Regions from separate parts of the Homo sapiens genome. Here region 1 is linked to region 2. The links are contacts of gene promoters, found by promoter capture Hi-C in blood cells and fetal thymus (Javierre and others, 2016). All regions are on one chromosome and are shown on one strand. Each heading gives the region's core, a stretch centred on a gene start or on the middle of the fragment in contact. The rest is flanking DNA. Distances are from core to core; before and after follow the strand shown. Region 1 has its middle 11 kb from the start of ZNF785. Region 2 holds the start of SEPHS2 (selenophosphate synthetase 2).

Evidence for each region. Contacts are between HindIII fragments. The CHiCAGO score rates a contact against its expected background, and 5 or more counts as called.
Region 1: a fragment that was not itself captured here is called in contact with the fragment with the promoter of SEPHS2 in region 2 in 15 of 17 cell types (erythroblasts, total CD8 T cells, activated CD4 T cells and 12 more); the score reaches 23.3 in erythroblasts.

What each region holds. Positions count from the first base shown.
Region 1 is chr16:30,595,153-30,598,588 of GRCh38, reverse strand. No RefSeq gene overlaps it. Among named protein-coding and RNA genes, the nearest start is that of ZNF785, 11 kb to the right of the region's middle. The HindIII fragment of the contact is 4,017 bases long and covers 1-3,372 here.
Region 2 is chr16:30,443,900-30,447,374 of GRCh38, reverse strand. SEPHS2 (selenophosphate synthetase 2) reads left to right here and starts at 1,501. Exons shown (of 1, transcript NM_012248.4): 1 at 1,501-3,475. The coding sequence starts at 1,648. The coding sequence ends at 2,994. RefSeq lists a silencer at 1,917-2,036 and an enhancer at 1,363-2,309. The HindIII fragment of the contact is 8,484 bases long and covers 1-3,475 here.

The DNA.
Region 1 (3,436 bases), core at 115-2,614, 150 kb before region 2:
GCTAATTTTAGTATTTTTGTAGAGACAGGGTTTCACCATGTTGGTCAGGCTGGTCTCGAACTCCTGACCTCAGGTGATCTGCCTGCCTTGGCCTCCCAAAGTGCTGGGATTACAGGCGTGAGCCACCGCTCCCAGCCAAATCCCATCTTTAAAAAGGAAAAAAACAGCAGGAGCTTCCTGTTCCTCCCCTATGATGCAACTCACTGTGTGTCTAGCATCCATCTGGGCACATCCCACATTGCCCCTGCAGGGGGCAGAAGGGAACCAATGCAGGCATGCTCATGCTGCTTGTTGTGCCCTGAACAGTAAGGTCTTTTGTCTCTGTTTTCTGACAGCATCCATGAAACAATAACAGACCCATTTATTAACCTATAAGTAGGGCAGCCTCAAATTCCAGATCTGACTGTAGGTATTGTTTTCCTTGACCAGATGAGGAAACAGAGGCACAGTGACATTAAATAGCTTGTCGACCGGGCACAGGGTGCACGCCTATAATCCCAGCACTTTGGGAGGCCGAGGCGGGTGGATCACCTGAGGTCAGGAGTTCGAGACCGGTCTGACCAACATGGTGAAATCCCGTCTCTACTAAATGCAAAAACATAGCCAGGCATGGTGGCACATGCCTGTAATCTCAACTACTTGGGAGGCTGAGGCAGGAGAATCACTTGAACCCGGGAGGCAAAGGTTGCAATGAGCCGAGATTGCGCCATTGCACTCCAGCCTGGGCAACAAGAGCAAAACTCCATCTCAAAAAATTTAAAAAAAAATAAATAACTTGTCCAGGATCACATATCTGGGTGACTGTAAAGTCAGCTGCCATGCAATTATTCTAAGACTGTCCTTTAAGATAACTGATGACCTAGTTAACAAATCAGTGCTTCAATTTTTATCTTACATACCTTAGTTTTCCTACTTAAGCTCTCTTGTAACTTAGCTTTCATGCCCCGCATTCTTCTAGTCTTCCTGGTGCCGCTTGTGGCTTCTGCTAGTGCGTACATGTGAGAATTCCTTCCCAGCAAGAAAGAGTCTTGCTCTGTGGCCCAGGCTGGAGTGCAGTTGTGTGATCATGGCTCACTGCAGCTTCTACTTCCCTGAGCTCAAGTGATCCTCCTGCTTCAGCCTCCTGAGTAGTTGGGACCACAGGCATGTGCCACCACACCCAACTAATTTTTTTGTATTCTTTGTAGGGATGAGGTTTCTCCATGTTGCCCAGGCTGGTCTCGAACTCCTGGGCTCAAGCAATCCTCCTGCCTTGGCTTCCTAGAGTGCTGGGATTACAGGTGTGGGCCACCTCGCCCGGCCTTATGTTTTTTCCAAATCCCAAAAATAATCAGTAAAGAAATTGGGAAAATGCAAAAAAGTGATAATTATTTATTATTTGTTTGTTTGTGTGTTTATTCATTTATTATTTTTGAGATAGAGTCTTACTCTGTTGCCCAGGCTGGAGTGCAACGGCAAGATCTCGGCTCACTGCAACCTCTGTCTCCTAGGTTCAAGCAATTCTCCTGCCTCAGCCTCCCAAGTAGCTAGGATTACAGGCGTGCGCCACCACGCCCGGCTAATTTTTTTTTTTTTTTGTATTTTTAGTAGAGATGGGGTTTCACCATGTTGGCCAGGCTGGTCTTGAACTCCTGATCTCAGGTGATTCACCTGCCTCAGCCTCCCAAAGTGCTGGGATTACAGGCGTGAGTCACCACGCCCAGCTCATCTGTATATCTTCTTTGGAGAAATGTCTATATAAATCCTATGCCTGCTTTCATCTTTTTTTTTTTTAATTCTTTTTTTGAGTGGTGTCTTGCTCTGTTGCCCAGGTTGGAATGCTGTGGTGCCATTTTGGCTCACTGCACCCTCCACCTCCCAGGCTCAAGTGATTTTCATGCCTTAGCCTCCTGAGTAGCTGGGATTACAGGTCTGTGCCACAATGCCGGCTAATTTTTGTATTTTTAGCAGAAATGGAGTTTCATCATCTCTGTTGGCTAGGCTGGTCTCGAATTTCTGGCCTCAAGTGATCTGCCTGTCTTGGCCTCCCAAAGTGCTGGGATGACAGTGTGAGCCACCGTGCCCAGCCTCTTTGCCTGCTTTTAAATTGGGTTTTTATTTTTTAGTGGTTGTTGAGTTACCGGAGTTATTTATAAATTCTGAATATTAATCCCTTATTAGACACATGATTTACAAATATTTTCTCCCATTCTGTGGAGTGTCTTTTCATTCTCAATAGTGGTTTTGCTTTTTTTTTTCTTTTGAGATGAAGTCTCACTCCATTGCCCAGGCTGGAGTGCAATGGTGCGATCTTGGCTCACTACAACCTTCACTTCCCAGGTTCAAGCGATTCTCGGGCCTCAGCCTCCCAGAGTAGCTGGGATTACAGGCATGAGCTACCATGCCCAGCTAATTTTTGTATTTTTAGTAGAGATGGAGTTTCACAATGTTGGCCAGGCTGGTCTCAAACTCCTGACCTTAGGCGATCCACCTGCCTCAGACTCCCAAAGTGCTAGGAGTACAGGTGTGAGCCACTGCACCCAGCCACCATTCATTTTAAAAGTTTTGAAAGACACAGTAAAGTTGAAGGACTTTTACAGAGAATACCCATATACTCACCACCTAGATTCTATCACTAACATTTAGTGTATCTGCTTTATCATGTAACTATCAGTTACTCTACCAGTACACTTTGTTTTTGGGTGCATGTAAAAAAAATTGCTGAAATCAGTACACTTCACCCGTAAACATTTCAACATGCATATCATTAACTAGAGCTCCACGTTTGTTTTATATATTTTTTGAGTTAAAAGTACATAAAATGCACAAACTTTAAGTGTATATTTGCTGAGTGTTGACAAAGACGTATACATCTGTAACTGAAACCCCTATCCAAATACATAACATTACCATCATCCTAGAAAGTTGCCTCATGTGGCTGGGTACAGTGGCTCATGCCTGTAATCCCAGTAGTTTGGGAGGCTGAGGCAGGCAGATCACGAGGTCAGGAGTTCGAGACCATCCTGGCCAATATGGTGAAACCCCGTCTCTACTAAAAATACAAAAATTAGCTGGGCATGGTGGCATGTGCCCATAATCCCAGCTACTAGGGAGGCTCAGGCAGGAGAAGCGCTTGAACCAGGGAGTCAAAGATTGCAGTGAGCTGAGATTCTGCCGCTGTACTCCAGCCTGGCGACAGAGTGAGATTCTGTCTCAAAAAAAAAAAAAGAAAAGAAAAGAAAGAAAGTTGCCTTATGCCCCTTCCTAGTCAATTCCCATTCCCACCCCACCAGAGACAACTACTATTCTAATTAGTGTTCCCTGTTATAAAACTTCATATAATTGGAATCATACAGTGTGTATTTTTTTTTTTTTTTTTTTTTGTCTAAAGCTTCTTTTATTCAGCATAATGTCTCTGAGTCCTACTTCTTTTTAGACTTTCTTGAGTTCAGAGCTG
Region 2 (3,475 bases), core at 252-2,751:
TCTCGCTCTTTCACCCAGGCTGGAGTGCAGTGGTGCAGTCTTGGCTCACTGCAACCTCTGCCTCCCAAGTTCAAGCAATTCTCCTGCCTCAGCCTCCCGAGTAGCTGGGATTATAGGCGCTCACCACCATGCCCGGCTAATTTTTGTATTTTTAGTAGAAACGGGGTTTCACCATATAGATCAAGCTGGCCTCGATCTCCCAACCTCGTGATCCACCCGCCTCGGCCTCCCAAAGTACTGGGATTACAGGTGTGAGCCACTGTGCCCGGCCCCGAAAATATCTATGTACAGTTTAAAGAACAACCATGTACCACGTACCCACCACCAGCCCAATGAACAGAATTAAACATAGCCCAGAAGCTCCCTATGTAGCCCTCCCTAGACATAGCCCCTATGCTGAGTCTTCTATTCATTTTCTTGTCTTTTAAAAAAGTTTTTATTGGCTGGGTGTGGTGGCTTATGCCTGTAATCCCAGCACTTTGGGAGGCCGAGGCCAGCAGATCACTTGAGGTCAGGAGTTTGAGACCAGCCTGGCCAACGTGGTGAAATCCCGTCTGTACTAAAAACGCAAAAATAAGCCGGGTGTGGTGGCGCACACCTGTAATCCCAGCTATTCAGGAGGCTGAAGCAGGAGAATCACTTGAACCTGGGAGGTGGAGTTTTTAATAGATATTGGCAAACTGCCCTTCATGGCTATATAAGATATATATATATATTTATTTACAGAGATATAGGAATTTTAGAATAGACCAGTCCTATGTAACCCACTCTGTTCCACAGATGGATGAGTCAACCGACGCGGAGAGTGACTCCACACAAAGCTGGTGGGAAACACCATTAGAATCCATGCAGGTGTCTGGACTTCCAGTCCTAAATCTCTCTTTTTGTGTGTGTCTGTGTGTGTGGGGGGGGTGTTTGTTTGTTTGTTATTGTTGTTTGTTTTAGAGACAGGTTCTTGCTCTGTCGCCCAGACTAGAGTGCAGTGGCGCGGACGCAGCTCACTGCAGCCTCGACCTCCTGAGTCCTAGAGTTCTTGAAGTTCCTGTTAACATTTCATTATATTGATGCTGCCTGCAGTTTGCTAACTTAATGGTAGTAGTTTAATTTCTAATTTCTCATGCTTTCTGTTTTTTCCCTTGGGCTATTTTGCCATCCTGGATCGATCATGTGCGCTGTCAAGTGACCTTTGGGACAATCCTGCCGATCATGAGGTTTGCCGAGTGACCAATCTTCCCTCGTCTACAATTTGCTGGACTTGGAAAAGTGACTGGAAGGGAGCAGAGTTCCGTCAGCCACTGCCAAGAAACCATTTAAATTACTAAGAGAGCGAAGGAAAGCACGTGACGTTCTGCAATCCCGTTGCAAGCGGTTTTGCAAGCCGGAGGTTGTTGCACCTTTTAGAGTCTAGGAAGCCCGCCTCTCGGTGGCGGAGTCGTCATTGGATGTTGCGGCTGTCAATCGCCAGGGCTATAAATAAGGGAGTCCGGCGGCTCCTCTATCAGGAAGATTGTGCATGCCGTGGGTCTGACGGCTTGAGTAGCGCTAGGGAGAATCCCTGCAGGTAATATTTGACTTTTGCTTCATATTAATCTGAGTGGAAAATAAAAGGGCCCTCTTCTCCTCTCGCTTCCCTGCCGGGCAGGCGCCATGGCGGAAGCCTCGGCGACGGGCGCCTGCGGAGAGGCGATGGCAGCGGCGGAAGGCTCCTCGGGCCCGGCGGGCTTGACTCTGGGCCGGAGCTTCTCGAACTACCGGCCCTTCGAGCCCCAGGCGTTGGGCCTCAGCCCGAGCTGGCGGCTGACGGGCTTCTCCGGCATGAAGGGCTGAGGCTGCAAGGTCCCGCAGGAGGCGCTGCTCAAACTCCTGGCGGGACTGACGCGGCCGGACGTGCGGCCCCCGCTGGGCCGGGGCCTGGTGGGTGGCCAGGAAGAGGCGTCCCAGGAAGCCGGCCTGCCGGCAGGAGCGGGCCCCAGCCCCACCTTTCCAGCCCTGGGCATCGGGATGGACTCCTGCGTCATCCCCCTGAGGCACGGGGGCCTGTCACTGGTGCAGACCACGGACTTCTTTTACCCCTTGGTAGAAGATCCCTACATGATGGGGCGCATAGCTTGTGCCAACGTGCTGAGTGACCTCTACGCCATGGGGATTACTGAGTGTGACAACATGTTGATGTTACTCAGCGTCAGCCAGAGTATGAGTGAGGAGGAACGCGAAAAGGTAACGCCACTCATGGTCAAAGGCTTTCGGGATGCGGCTGAGGAAGGAGGGACGGCAGTGACCGGTGGGCAAACGGTGGTCAACCCTTGGATTATAATCGGTGGAGTTGCCACTGTAGTATGCCAACCAAATGAGTTCATAATGCCGGACAGCGCCGTCGTTGGGGACGTGCTGGTGTTAACCAAACCGTTAGGAACCCAGGTTGCTGTCAATGCCCACCAATGGCTGGATAATCCTGAAAGATGGAATAAAGTAAAGATGGTGGTCTCCAGAGAAGAGGTGGAGCTGGCCTATCAGGAAGCCATGTTCAATATGGCTACCCTCAACAGAACTGCTGCAGGTTTAATGCACACATTTAATGCCCATGCGGCCACAGATATCACAGGCTTTGGCATTCTAGGACACTCCCAGAACCTTGCAAAACAACAAAGAAATGAAGTGTCCTTTGTTATTCATAATCTGCCAATAATTGCCAAGATGGCTGCCGTCAGCAAGGCCAGTGGACGGTTTGGGCTTCTTCAAGGAACCTCAGCTGAAACCTCTGGGGGATTACTGATTTGTCTGCCAAGAGAACAGGCGGCTCGCTTTTGTTCTGAAATCAAATCCTCCAAGTACGGAGAGGGTCACCAAGCGTGGATCGTTGGCATTGTGGAAAAGGGAAACCGAACGGCCCGGATCATTGACAAGCCGCGAGTTATTGAAGTCCTGCCTCGTGGGGCCACAGCTGCTGTTCTTGCTCCTGACAGTTCAAATGCCTCCTCTGAGCCTAGCTCGTGAGATGAAAGAACAGAAGTTGTTTGGACCTTAGAGCCATTGTCCACAATCACGGATGGTTCTCAAGAGTTGATTGTAAGAAATTTCCAAAGAAGGCTGCCTGCATAGTGGTTCCGGCTGCCCTTTCTAGGTGATTGGAATCAGCCCATCTAAAGCAGTCTTTATATGCATTCCGAGGCCAGAGTAACATTTTGAACTTTGGGGGGATATTTGTTCATCACTTGGGTAGAAGAGGAGCAAAAATACCTCTGTTTTCTCTTGCCAAAGTAAGATGAAGCTATTCCAGGTTGAGGGATTTTTCTTTGCACGGGGTTGATTAATTTCTGCACAGGGAGTGAGATTATTAAAGTAACACACACACAAAGTAAATTGCAAAATGAAAAAAATTAGAAGCAAATGAGTTTTGGACCAATATTGTTGATAAATCTAAATTGTTAAGAGAGATCTTATAATGCAACATCAAATTCTTTATTCAATTTTACTG